5 separate regions of the Homo sapiens genome follow, and regions 1, 3, 4 and 5 are each linked to region 2. Evidence: promoter capture Hi-C in human tissues and cell types (Jung and others, 2019). All regions are on one chromosome and are shown on one strand. The core of a region is centred on a gene start or on the middle of the fragment in contact, and the rest is flanking DNA. Distances in the headings are between cores, read along the strand shown.

What was found. Contacts are between HindIII fragments. The study calls those that stand out against the background at their distance.
Region 1: a fragment that was not itself captured here is called in contact with the fragment with the promoter of GRIA4 in region 2 in 2 of the 25 tissues and cell types used here (dorsolateral prefrontal cortex and hippocampus).
Region 3: a fragment that was not itself captured here is called in contact with the fragment with the promoter of GRIA4 in region 2 in 2 of the 25 tissues and cell types used here (H1 embryonic stem cells and mesenchymal stem cells).
Region 4: a contact is called between a fragment that was not itself captured here and the fragment with the promoter of GRIA4 in region 2, in 2 of the 25 tissues and cell types used here (IMR-90 fibroblasts and aorta).
Region 5: a fragment that was not itself captured here is called in contact with the fragment with the promoter of GRIA4 in region 2 in 2 of the 25 tissues and cell types used here (IMR-90 fibroblasts and hippocampus).

The regions. Positions count from the first base shown.
Region 1 is chr11:105,887,473-105,890,172 of GRCh38, forward strand. GRIA4 (glutamate ionotropic receptor AMPA type subunit 4) reads left to right here. Exons shown (of 17, transcript NM_000829.4): 6 at 47-100. Among named protein-coding and RNA genes, the nearest start is that of MSANTD4, 130 kb to the right of the region's middle. The HindIII fragment of the contact is 7,114 bases long and covers 1-2,700 here.
Region 2 is chr11:105,608,625-105,611,324 of GRCh38, forward strand. It overlaps GRIA4 (glutamate ionotropic receptor AMPA type subunit 4), which reads left to right and starts at 1,449. Exons shown (of 17, transcript NM_000829.4): 1 at 1,449-1,804; 2 at 2,284-2,461. The coding sequence starts at 2,374. RefSeq lists a silencer at 2,425-2,625. The HindIII fragment of the contact is 8,669 bases long and covers 1-2,700 here.
Region 3 is chr11:106,013,710-106,016,409 of GRCh38, forward strand. The region is part of intron 1 of MSANTD4 (Myb/SANT DNA binding domain containing 4 with coiled-coils); the gene reads right to left. Among named protein-coding and RNA genes, the nearest start is that of MSANTD4, 7.2 kb to the right of the region's middle. The HindIII fragment of the contact is 9,647 bases long and covers 1-2,700 here.
Region 4 is chr11:105,300,645-105,303,344 of GRCh38, forward strand. All of the region lies in intron 2 of LOC105369468 (a long non-coding RNA gene), which reads right to left. Among named protein-coding and RNA genes, the nearest start is that of CARD18, 160 kb to the left of the region's middle. The HindIII fragment of the contact is 4,413 bases long and covers 1-2,700 here.
Region 5 is chr11:105,190,146-105,192,845 of GRCh38, forward strand. The region is part of intron 4 of LOC105369468 (a long non-coding RNA gene); the gene reads right to left. Among named protein-coding and RNA genes, the nearest start is that of CARD18, 52 kb to the left of the region's middle. The HindIII fragment of the contact is 7,007 bases long and covers 1-2,700 here.

The sequences.
Region 1 (2,700 bases), core at 8-2,507, 280 kb after region 2:
CAGTGAATTAAAATTGATTTTCTCTTATTTGCTTATATCTTCACAGATTGTAAGTGTTGGAAAGCATGTTAAAGGCTACCATTATATCATTGCAAACTTGGTAAGAACTTCTTATTTTCTACTTTTCATAAGAATTGCTCAAGCACACAAGATTATTTTAACTGTGCCTTAAATAATGCTTCAATAAATAGAGTACATTACTTACTAAGCTTTTAATAACACATGATATTTTATTACAATGATCATTAAATTTCACCAGTAGAATTCAATATATTTTTATGCAGATTAGCTTGGTATCTGCTAAAGAGACCTTTAAAAGAAATGATAATGGTTACTTTGCTACGATACCACTTGTCAAATTAAATAATTTTCTCTGTCTAAATGATAAATGCTACTTTATAGACAAAGATAGCCAATATTTGGATATTATAAGAATGATCTAAACTAATAGCTTATGTTCTCTAATTTTAAGAATAACTGTATATAATGGCTATATAAGCAAATCTTTTAAATGGGAGTAATCCAAATTTTTAAAAATTATGTCAACTTTTCACATATCATATAGAAATGGCTAACAAACAAGATACACATATTTTTATGAAATTCTTAAAGGTCTGAGAGAAATCCTTTTAGATATCTTGGCAAGGCTCATTGAATATGTCTTGTTAACCATGTAGTGTAGGGGGTAGATTATGTATGGAGCGGCCCAGCCTCTCTTGCTTTATTATAGAGTACCATTTGCCCTAAGGGCCTGATTCCCAAAGTGATTTATATTGGAGAAGTTAAGGATGTTTTCTCCTTTTTTTTTTTTTTTTTTTTTTTTTTTTTTGAGACGGAGTCTCACTCTGTCGCCCAGGCTGGAGTGCAGTGGCGGGATCTCGGCTCACTGCAAGCTCCGCCTCCCGGGTTCACGCCATTCTCCTGCCTCAGCCTCCCAAGTAGCTGGGACTACAGGTGCCCGCCACTACGCCCGGCTAATTTTTTTTTGTATTTTTAGTAGAGACGGGGTTTCACCGTTTTAGCCGGGATGGTCTCGATCTCCTGACCTCGTGATCCGCCCGCCTCGGCCTCCCAAAGTGCTGGGATTACAGGCGTGAGCCACCACGCCCGGCCTCCTTTTTCTATTTTTATGACACTTTTTTTTAATGACTATCTTGCGCTTGAAACAGGAAAGAAACTAAAGGATGCAAAAGAGATTCAGATCTACCCATTCTTTCCGTATGGCAAGTGGACTGTCAGACTTTGAGACAGGAATTTTCGGTCTTTAGTGAACTGGGTTTGGTTGTGGATCTGAGATATTAAAATACAGCAAAATACTGTGAACCATGATTATATTGTGTTTCTTAGATAAAGTATAATCTTGCGACTTAATGGATTATCATGAAAATACTGAGAAATTTTGACTTGTCTTTTTCATTGCTTTTTAGTAGGCTGTTTTAGTAGAGTGTTTCACTATTTTTTATAAAAATATAAAATTTAAGACAAATATATTCTGATATTAATTACTATAAGAGAAAAAAACTTAGGATTATGAGATAACTAAGTACAGTGAAATGTACAATGAGACTCTAATGACTTTTATAGCAAATAGGTTTTGTCATCTATTCTTACAAACAATAGAATTGAGGGGAAAAAAATCAATGTGTTATATGTAGATTATCATTCCAGAAATGAGTTGCTGACATTGGCAATTAAAATAAATAAATCAATACAAGATGGAATGAATTAATATTTGTAATACTACAAAGGATATCGTAAACAGCCCTAGGAGATGGCAGTGTATTTAAGTTATCTAGCGTTCCAGTATATGAAGTAGAAAACCATTTTTGTTTGCAGTAGGGACTAGAACCATCACTTTCACTAAAAATCAGCAAGTTTTATTATATGTGGTTGATATCTTTGTAACACATGATTAGATCAGTGGCTGCCATGGACATACATTATAATACAGTGTATTAATATGGATTCTATTGACTTATTCATTTATCCCTAAAGGACTATTACTTATAACACTAGAGTAGTTTTTATTTTATTGAGCCAATCAACAACTATTTTTGAGAGCTATGTGCATAAGATTCTCAAATGTGAAGTCAATCCAGAATCAAAATGAAAAATTACATCAACATCATACTTAAGGTTGAAAGACTGAATGATTTTCCCCTAAAATCAGGAACAAGATAAGAGTGTCCTCTCTCACCACTTCTATTGAACGTTGTACTGAAGGTTCTATTACAGATATTTAGGTAAAATCAATAAAAGGCATCCAGATTGAAAAAGAAGATTATATGTATATAAAAATACTAAGGAATCAAAAAATATTTATAGAACTAGTAAGTTCCACAGGGTTGCAGAATGCAAGGTGAATATACAACAGTTTATTGTATGTCTATATGCTAGCAATAATATTCTAAAAATTAAACCAAGAAAATATTTCATTGATAATTTACAATTACAATTTACAATTAATGGAGAACTGCTATACTTAAACCAACTCATCAAGGGTGATTTAACAGTATTAGTAAAAAACTGATTTCTACAATAACAATTCTTACTTGTGATGTTTACAAATATTCCAGAATATTTAAAATATTCTGTAGTCATAATGTAGAATATAAAAGCAGAAGGTATGAAGTCCAACTCATATTTACCAAAAAGAGAACAATGAAATTCAGCAGACATCAATATGGGATGCATGAAATT
Region 2 (2,700 bases), core at 199-2,698:
TCACAGCCTTGTTTTTTAACACAGAAAAATAAAAAAAGGAAAAATGCTTCAAATTTCACTTGACTTGCAAGACTAAAACTTCACAAACTAAAATGACAAATGTATGATTTGTAAAATACAGTTACAATTAGGTTTTTTTTTTCATAACAATCTGTGGTGAAATGTAACGGGAAAGCAGACACTTATTTTAAAGATGCAATTTTAAAAATAAAATTCAAAACTTAGGAAATAGAAAAGCACTCAAGTTTTAGCAGGGATTTTAAAATGTCATCTACAAACTACAAATACAGGTAATCAGTGACACCAAATAAAGTATTTTGAAAGAGTTAAGGTAATGTATATTTCAAAAAGCCGTTACCAGGCTTTCTGTAAGTCCCTTGCAAGAATTCCACTTTAAGCATTGTAGTCTCAAATATTATATCAGGCAAACCTAGGCATTTGCTATATTCTTTTTAAAAATTTAATGGCAGACATCACCCTAGGTTCCCTAACGTTTAAGGAGAACCTCTCCTTCTAATGATTCTCTCACACAGCTTATTGGAACAGGAGATTGTATTTACTAACTAGATCAGGAAATCTCAAACCATACAGAGGAAATCAGAAACCGGTCACTCACGGCTACCACAGTGACTGCTTCTGAGTGTGGTTCAAGCTCAGTCCAGGACAGGCAGATGAAAGGACAATCTTAAAGGTGACTCTGGAGAGCAAGTGAGACTGTAACCCCAAAACTTTCTAGGATAATTCATTTTCACTTCTACCCAGTCAAAACAACTATTGACATCATCACTGAAGTGCTTAAGTCTACCTGGAGGTGGCGTGGAGCAGAGTGAGCATTCCAGAGTCCCAGACAAGAGGAGATGTGCACGAAACACTATCTTCCTGTCAGACACCTGTGCCCACTGCCCCAAGCACTGCCCCTCTGGTCCTTCATCAGCCTTTGCGCTGTGTCCCTCCTGCTCCTGCAATGGGCCACAGCACAGAAGGAAAGAGTCCTCCGGAATGGGTGACTGTATAGAAAGCAATCGAATCTTTAATCACTTTTCCTACTTTACACTTCACGCAGTTCTTATTCCTATCCCTGCTTCATGCCTTTCCAAGAGAATGTTAGAGGCCTCTTTCAATTTTCATTTCTCAGTCTTTTCCCCATCCCGTTCAGTACCCTAAACTTCGTCAGTTATTTAAAATAACCTTTTACCCCCTCCTCCCCTTCCCAGGATGTTTCAACTTCTCTGGCTCTCTTCCCCATCCTTACCTCCTCCAATTCTTTCATCCTGGTCCTGGCCTCTTAAACCCGCCAGGGGCTGCCCTTTGCCTGTCTTTTCTCCTCCCATCCCTCTCTGAACCCTTTCACCTCATCCATTCCCTTGTCAGGCTCTCCAGATTCCCGGGCTGTTTGCTGGTGAGAAATCTTTGCTGCAGCGAGGACCGGAGTCCCCCGCGCGCAGCCCAGTGGCAGAAGAGGGCTAGGCTGAGAGGGAAGCCAGGACTGTAGGAGAGGGAGGCAGCCCGTCCTCCTCACGAACCTGCAAGGATGCGGCAGGGGCCTGGGGGCATGGGGAGGTACTAACCCCCCGGAGCCCCCGATTGGGGCTTGCAGACCTGGCCCGTGGGCGGATTTTCTGCCTAGCGCAGCCGAGAAGCAGAGGTGCCAGGAAAACCAAGAGAGGGGCGCTGGGGGTGCCCATCCCCAGAGTCGGTCCCTCTGCGAACCGAGGAAGAAAAGAGGAGGGAGTCAGCGAGTGGTCAGAAGGGAAAACCTGACACCAGACTGGCTCCGGAGCGTCCGGGAGACTGGGGCGCTCCGGTGAGCACCCAGGGGGTGAAGCCAGCCGAGCGGTGGGCGAGGGGCGTGCGGAGGGAGTGCGCGCTCGAGGAGGGGACGCCAGGAGGGCAGCGATGCTCCGGGCTGGTGCAGGCTTGCTGGGGGATGTCGGCTGATGCGAGCTGGAGAGCGCGTGTGGCGGCCGCGGCGCCAGTGTTTGTGTGTATGTGAGAAAGCAAGGGGCGAGCGCGAGTGCGAGTGAGGCAAAGATAGAGCGCATGTCTCATCCCTGCGAGCAGCCACTAGACGCTCCACCACCATCTTTTGCATGTGCAACATTTGCAGCCGGACAGAAAACCTCTCCCAGGGCTATGGAGACTGCGGGAAAAATCTGGCGGCTCGCGATGGATTGCTAAGGAGAACTAGTCATAATCTTAAACCACCGAAACCTCTTTCCTTTTTTTTCTTTCTTTTCTTTCTTTTCTTTTTTTTTTTTTTTTTTTGGTTGATTTTAATTTTAGCGCCATCGTCTTCAATGCTTCTCTGAACAGCCTTTAGGAAGAGTGCGAGAGAAAGAGAGAGAGCGCGCGCCAGGGAGAGGAGAAAAGAAGATGAGGATTATTTCCAGACAGATTGTCTTGTTATTTTCTGGATTTTGGGGACTCGCCATGGGAGCCTTTCCGAGCAGCGTGCAAATAGGTAAGGTGTGCTCCGATGGGGTGTGCATGTGGCTGGTTGTAGCAGATATCCGAAAGTGAGTTAAATGAGTTGCTGATAAGCAATTCAGGGAAACCTTCAGCAGTTCCCTTCCCCTCTGTTTCCCTCCTCTTCCTTTCTCTCCTTTGCAAAAAGACTTCCTCTTTAGTGCAGGTTCCGTTGGAATACACCCAGGGCAGCCCACCCATGCGTTCTCAGCCCATAGCCCTATTTCCACCTTT
Region 3 (2,700 bases), core at 137-2,636, 410 kb after region 2:
AAATTAGCTGGGCATGGTGGTGCACACCTATAATCCCAGCTACTCAGGAGGCTGAGGCATGAGAATCGCTTGAACCCAGTAGGTGGAGGTTGCAGTGAGCCGAGATTGTGCCACTGCACCCCAACCTGGGGGAAACAGTGAGACTTTGTCTCAAACAACAACAACAACAAAAAAGTGTTGCTAAGGTAAGTTTTGAGATGTCATTTAGTAAAAGATTTTCAAAAGGAGACTCTTACCTATGTGGAAGGTCCAGATAAAATTCTTTCAATCGGTTACATTTCCTCTACCTCCTGTTAAAGTAAATTAGACCGGAGACCTGGCCTGAAGAATCCCTAAGCAGACAAAACCAGTTAGGCCTCATAAGAGACTTTAACCTTGCTTCATTTGCAAACATATGCAACACTTAACTTGGGCTATTTTTTTGGTAAATATCGATATTTTTTAAAAAAGAAACTTAAGACTAAGCAATCAGAAGCTGTCAGCTAACTTATGCAACTAACTTATGTAACCTTCCAGCAGGATAGGTCAAATTAGACAATCTTATAACTGTAACCAATCAAATATTTACTTTGTTTTACTTCTGTTAGACCTATAAAGCCTCCCCGCTTTGTGTTTCCACTGCAGAGCCCCCAAACCACTTCTGGTTTGGAGCTGCCTGATTCAAGAATCACTGTTTGCTCAAATAAACTTGTTAAAAGTTATCATGTCTCAGTTTACCTTTTAACACATGGTTTCTTTTCTCTTACTCTGTCTGCCAATTTAAACTTTTCATTAGTGTGAAAAATAGTTCTACTCTAATTCACAATACAAATAGTATCTTCTACTGAAGCAAAAATATAGCAATTAAGCAAGGCTAAATTGAATAAGAAAATGCACATCTTTTCTATCATCTTTTCTCTTTTAGACTGAAAAGTGGATGCTAATACCTTATTTTTAAACTTAATAACAAAGCATTTCTTATCACCATTGCATTAAACCTTTATGCATTTTTCCTTTTCAAGCTCTTGGTATTCTTTCTTCAGCTGACTTTGTACGTGTCTAATAACATCAACAAATATATGCCCATCACCACATCTTTGTTTCCAATCACTCATGTGGAATAACCATCTCCTGAACTGCCACTTGCTGCTGAAATAGAGGTCAGAAAACTAAAAATTCAAAACAGCTGAAATGAACTCTCAAGAAATCACTGTCAATTTCACATACCCACAAAAAAGGGCAACGTATGCAAAAACAAAAGAAAAGAAGACTGCAAGCCAACTATTTCTAAAGTAGACTTATAGACTTTGAAAATTTCTCAAGAGAAATTTAATAATAAAATTGAAATCCACAAAATTGGAATGTATAACCAACAATAGCACTCTTGATACTGCCCTAGAGATATACTCCTCTTACAGTCAAATGTAAACCTTTATCCTCTAGAATATAAGCAAATAATATAAGCAAAGTTTATCTATAAATAGAAACATCAAAAGAGGTAGTGTGTGTAGTAGTTATGAGCACAGATTCTGGAGTCAGACCACCCGGGTTAGAGTCCTGGCTCTGGCAATTCCTAGCTGTGTGGCCTCAGTTACTTAACTTCCCTATGCGTAATTTTATTTGTAAAATGATAATAACATTACTTCATAGAAATCCTATAAGGATTAAAGGACTTAGTCAAACAAAGAGAACAGTTCCTGGTGCACATTAAGCACTATTATGTATTTGCCACATCAAAGGCAAAACATTTAAATAACTTTGACAAAAGGAAACAAAAATGTCACAATAATATTGGAATTGTTTAGTTCCTAAGTTGAGGGATAGGTCCCATGGGTCTTTATTATTATGCTTCATAACATATATACTTACATTAGGAGTGTGGTGGAACCTGCCCATGAGAGCTCTCAAGAATCAATTGCGGACATCTCTTTGCAACTCCACATTCAGCCATGTCATGTTAGGAGCTAAAAATTGGCCAAGACGGCACTTACTAATACTACAGAATTGTCAAATTAGAACTTTTTTTTTTTTTTGAGTGGGCAGAGAGCTGCTTTATTAGAACACTCCAGCTATATTATTTTTGTGTAAATCAAATATTATCTAATAAATAAAAGAAAATGAAATGTTTTAACATCTGATTCCAAGGCAGTTTAGTGAACACTGTAGAATGCTTATAATTTTATTTTATTTTTAGAGACAGGGTCTCACTCTGTTCCCCAGACTGGAGTACAGTGGCTCAATCATAATTCATTGCACCCTCAAACTCCTGAGCCCCAGTGATCTTCCCGCCTCAGCTTCCTGAGTAGCAAGGCAGGTGCACCACCATGTACTACTAATTTTTAAAGCTTTTATATAGACAAGGTCTTGCTATGTTGTCCAGGCTGGTCTTGAACTTTTTGCCTCAGGTGATCCTCCTGCCTTAGCCTCCTAAAGTGCTAGGATTACAGGTGTGAGCCACCATGCTGAGCCTAGAACACTTAAATAATTTTAGAGGATCACATTTAATTAATACTCTGGCCTAACATTCCTATGTAATTCAAATTATCCAATAGCTTGGGCAAGCATTCAGCTTTCCTCTAGAGGTGACTAAAAATATTCATGAGGTACCATGTTTATAAGCCACAATATAAAAAACTGAAGCAAAGTGATTTACACACATCATTAAACCAGCCCCAATATGCTGCTTCTTAGTACCCTATGTTGCAGGACAAGTGAAAGAAT
Region 4 (2,700 bases), core at 96-2,595, 310 kb before region 2:
GAATGAAGGACCCTGGATTAGTCTCTGTCAGGTCTAGACTGAGTGCCTCTCATTGCCAATTCGAAAGTGAAGTCCCAAGTCCTAGTGCAGGCTCTGACCTCTATTATTTATGCCATGCCACTTAATTACCTTGAGCCTTAATTTTCTGATTTTAAAATCCAAGGTTAATATGTATTTGATCAACTCACTAGATTGATATATGTTGATAACATTAGGTTAGCATGGTTCACCCAGGTTATATAAATTCTTTTACAATTGGAATAGAATTCAGACAACATGAAAGAAATTACTATTCAAAGTATTCACCCTGAAGAAAAAGCAAACTATGATGCAAGCTACAAAGGTATACTGTTTAGTAGTTTGAAAAGGAAAGTAAACACGATTTAATTGGAAAATGAAGAATAGCCTATTAAGAGAATGGGGAAGGCCCATGTAAGGAAATTGTCCTCTTAGGGGTTTACACTATACTGATTTTAAGGTCACATTAACACTAAAACCCAATCATGAAGTCACTTTCTTAAATGTCTACTGTGATTCTAGCATTACCTTTAGTGCCAAAATAATAGACATAGCTCCCATATTCAAAGAGGTATCTGCATGGCTGTAATAATAAAGGGCAAATAATACAAAGGGGATAAAAATGAACTCCATGTTCTGGGAGAGGTCCCATTAGAAACATTTTGCTGGTCAGCTTTGCAAATCAGGCATCTCCCCCAGAATCCTGCATATGCAACTGTGTGATGCTTCTAACAAAGTGACTGTTCGCCAGTCATTTTGTGGTTCTTTGGTACCACTATTCCTGTTATGTTCCCTAGTTTTAAGCTGTTAATGTATTTATTTTTTTCCATTATGATAAAATACCCATAATATAACATTTATGATTTTAACAATTTGAAAATGTAAACTTTGGTGGCATTTAATACATTCACAATGTTGTGTAATCATCACCAATACCTACTTCAAGAACATCCTCATCCTAAAGTAAACTATGTACTCATTACACAGGACTTCATTGTTCTTTCTTCTCTCAGTCACTGGTAACTACCAATCTGCTTTGTATACTTTAGATTTTTATGTAAATGAAATCATACAATATGTGGCCATTGAATTTAGCTTCTTTCACTTAGCCTACTGTTTTCATTCTTCATCCATGTTTTTGTGACAGAAATATTCCACTGTGCATATGTGTATGTGTGCATGTGCACACTCACCCACAGTGCACACACCATGTTTTGTTGCATGCACACATCACATTTTGTTTATCCATTAATCAACTGATGGACATTTGAGTTGTTTCTACCTGTTTACTGTTGCAAATAATCCCGCCATGGATACATGTACAAAGCTATATTCAAAAAAGCTGTTATCATTTTAATGACCCCTTTCATCTTCTATAATAAGACTAAGCTCTTCTCTAAGTGTGATGTCAGCCTCCTTATGCCTTTCTAGACTCTGCTGCTACTACTAGCTCTTTTTATGCAACACCACCCAAGTCTTACACAAACCCTATAACCAAGTCTGCCACACACCTCATGCTTTGCCACTGCCTGAAATGTCCTCATTAGGCTGTTGCACATTTACTTTCTAGCTTTTCTAGAAGCAGCTCAGTCATCATTTCCTGCTGGAAGCCAGGTCTTCTTTGTGTCCTTCTGCTCATCTGGCCCATGCATGCATTAATCAATAGGCCAATTCCAGTCTGTTCCACTCATTTATGTGCCTACAGGTCAGTCTCTTCTAAGTCATGAGTTTCAGTGAGGTATAAAGTAAGTCTGATTCATCTGTGAATCCCAGCAGAGAATTTTACCACATAGTAGATATTCCATAAATGTTTGATGAGTGAATGTATTAAATGTAAAGATGAATGGCATTTGTATTCCATGAAGCAAAAGAAGAGCTCTGCAGTTATTCAATTCTCTCTTTAAGCAGCATTTGCCATCTCTCCTTATGTCTCTCTACCTCAGACAATTAATATTTCAAGCTCACCTCCTGAAAACAGACTATAGAAAATGACCAAGATCTAGGGAAGAACAATGGATATGGTCAGAAAAGATAAGTATGAATTATGGCACTTCCATCCTTATCTCCTAGGGTCCATGTCAATTCACTTTGCTTGCTGAGTCTCTAATAGAGGCTAAAGTCAGCTCAAGAACAATATTAAAAGTCTCAGCTTTAGTGTCAGTTCAGCTCCCAGACAATGGCCATGTGATGTCCAGCTACATATTTATTTTGACTCAATAATATAAAATATTCAGTGGAGTAGCTTATAATAATACTTTTTACCACATAGATTAAAATATATTCAAAATGTATTCAATCCATCAATTCTTAATTGGCTATGCTAATAGAAGACAAAACTGTATGTTCTGCTTAAAGTGGTAACCTCTCATCATGCCCTCATTGAAACAAATTATATTTTTTAGACATGATAAAACTCAATAATTACTTCTGAGAAGTGTTTCTGGCTCTTCCAGTCTAATTTAAATGCCCTTCTTTTCTGCCCTCATTGCACCTTTGTCTTTCTTATCTTTCTTTCCCATAGCATCTGCCATTGTCCTGTGTGCCTTGATATATTTGTCTCTGTTTCCTAGTAAGTCATAAGTTTTGAGATGACAGAAGCCATGTTTTACCCACAGTGATTAATGCCATCCCTATACATAGAAGATGCTCAATCAATGATGTTGAATGAATGTCATACACATT
Region 5 (2,700 bases), core at 5-2,504, 420 kb before region 2:
TCAGAGAATGGGAGGTTCTTAAAGACAGAGAAGTCAGGGAGTGACATTTTTTAAGTGATTTGTGGTCATCAAGATCAATGTCACTGGAAGGATTACATTGTTTCTGGCACAACAGTGGTTATTGGTGACTTCACAAGAGCACTTTTAATAGAATACAACAAATATAAAATATATTACTGGAAACTAAGTGAAGATTTTCAATTTTATAAATGGTGCATAGGCAACAGGCATTTCTGGTCTCTCTGAAAACCCAACTAAAGTGACATTAAGTTATTTTTGAATATATATAAGCAAAAAATCAAAGAAAACAGATTTTAGTACATAAAATGTTATTTTTGGAATATAGAAAGCATACAGATGAATAGTAACTGAGTGTATACATGAAAAATCCAGAACATGACAGCTTGGGTAATGACAATTTAAAAAAATCATGATTTATGGTACAGAACCATGGAAAGTGTCAAAAATTGGAGTCGCAAATTATCTCTGAAAGCCAGAGTGTGAAGTGGGACAGAAAACAAAAGATTTGTTGAAAGTGTCTTTAGGAGCAGGTAGCTGCCCTGATGTTCTCCCCAAGTCCAACAAACTAGTCAATTGCCCTTTCTTGAGCTCTGCAGGAAAAAAAAAAAAAAAAAAGGATTATTCTCTGAAGATGTTGAATTACAGAGACTGTGAATTGGAGACATCTTGACCAGCTAAGGTCAAAGATGAGGCACCCCCCTGGACACATGGAACCAGGCGATCGAGGGTGTACTGAATGGAGGTCCTCTTGCCCCCATGGCTGCCTGCCTCCCACTACTCTGGCCTCTATGCTTTTCTGTTGTTGGCAGATGACTGGAGGATTTCTTTCTGAGGAAACTGCCCTGTAGAATAGAGAACTACAAATTCCCCGCAACGTGAAGTTTACCTACACAACAATCCTGCCCATGTACCCCTAAACCTAAAATAAAAGGTAAAAAAAAAACAACAAAAACCTTGTACCCTACCTAAATACAAATTCATGATTAAACAAGCCATTACCACATACATAAATCTTCCTATTAGAATGTTAGGACCTACTTATTTTGATTGGACAGCCAAGGATCACCAGGTATTTGAGAAGCTCCTTAAAAACAAAACACAAAAAAATGCACATGAAAATCCAAAGATAGAAAAAAGAACAAATAAAAACATCAGAGATCATATGGGGAATAAAAAACACTCATATAAAATTATAATTCTCATCTTCAAATCTAAAAATACTATATTACATTTATGATATGAGAGTATTCAGAGAATACAAATTTTTAGAAATGTGAAATCTTTTGACAAAAATAAAAACAAATGATTGAAATGTTGAAAAGCAATGAATAGAAAATTTTGCAGGTGAAAAAAATAATTTTAAAATAATAGAATTCTAAAAGGTTAACAACAACAACAACAACAAAAGCTCAGTCTAACAGGCCAACTAATGAGTTCCACTGAGAGAGACAATGATGGGGAGGATATTATGAAAGCATCACTTAAGAAATTTTTCCAGAATAGAAGGATAAGATTTTCCACAAAAAAAAAGGGTCCACTGAGTATCCACAATGTGACTCAGATTCATCAATACTCATGACTACTCTTCATAACTATACAATTTCAGGACATTTGGGAAAAGTCCTAAGAGCATCTGGAAAGGAAAAAAATGGGTTACATACAAAGGGCTTATACAAAGGAATAAAAATGACTTCTTACTTCTAACAAGCAACACTGGAAACTAAAAAAGAACTGAACAATGGATTCAGTTTCTGAGGGAAAGTCTTTTCTCTCCTGGAAGTCTATGAATCTCACTGCAAACTAAATGCAAGGATAAAAATATTTTCAAACATGCAAGGGCTTAAATTAACTTTCTCTGTGCACCTTTTTCTGTGTTACAGAGTATCTATAGAACATTGTTGAAGTATATATTTCATAAAAAACGAAGGAATAGATTTAGGAAGGACCCAGGAATCAGGGCATTTAACACAAAAGGGTGTAAAGAGGAGACTAGAGAAAAATCCAGTTTAGACTGGAACAAGAGGAGTAAAGATTTCAGGAGAGATATTTCAAACACACACATGTACACACACACACTGGTTTCTTTGTAGTCAAATACATAAAGTAATTTATCAGTTCTTCTTGTGTGCATATGTGTGAGTGTATAAGGTAGTGCAGGGATGTGAAAAAGAGCCATATCCTCATTCTTCAAGCTAAGAAACCAAAAGATATTATCTAAAAATACTTAAAACCACTAAGTAGCAGTGAAAACTCAGTATTTAAAATATGCAGTTTAAATGTATAGTCTATGGGAAATTACATTGGAATATTCAAAATTCAATTAATGACATGAGACATCTAAAGTTTTTTACACATTAAAAAAGGTAAAGCATATATATTAAATATCTCAAAGTACAACAGAAATTTTCAAAAAAATATACTGGAATGAAAAGAAAATGTCTACGTAATAATTTTCACCAAACCATAATATCAACAAATGCTGAAAATAATAATTCTTATAAATGATATATTATTTCCCATATTTCAGGAAGCTTAATCCACTTTATTTCCTGGAAACTCCTTTCTCTTTCACTCTTCACTGTCAGTTCTCTTCAGAGGCAGATATTGCTAAACGTACACCAATATGTGTTCTCTAATTTTTCTGTATCAATAGAAGTTCTGATTTTTATGTAGGCATAT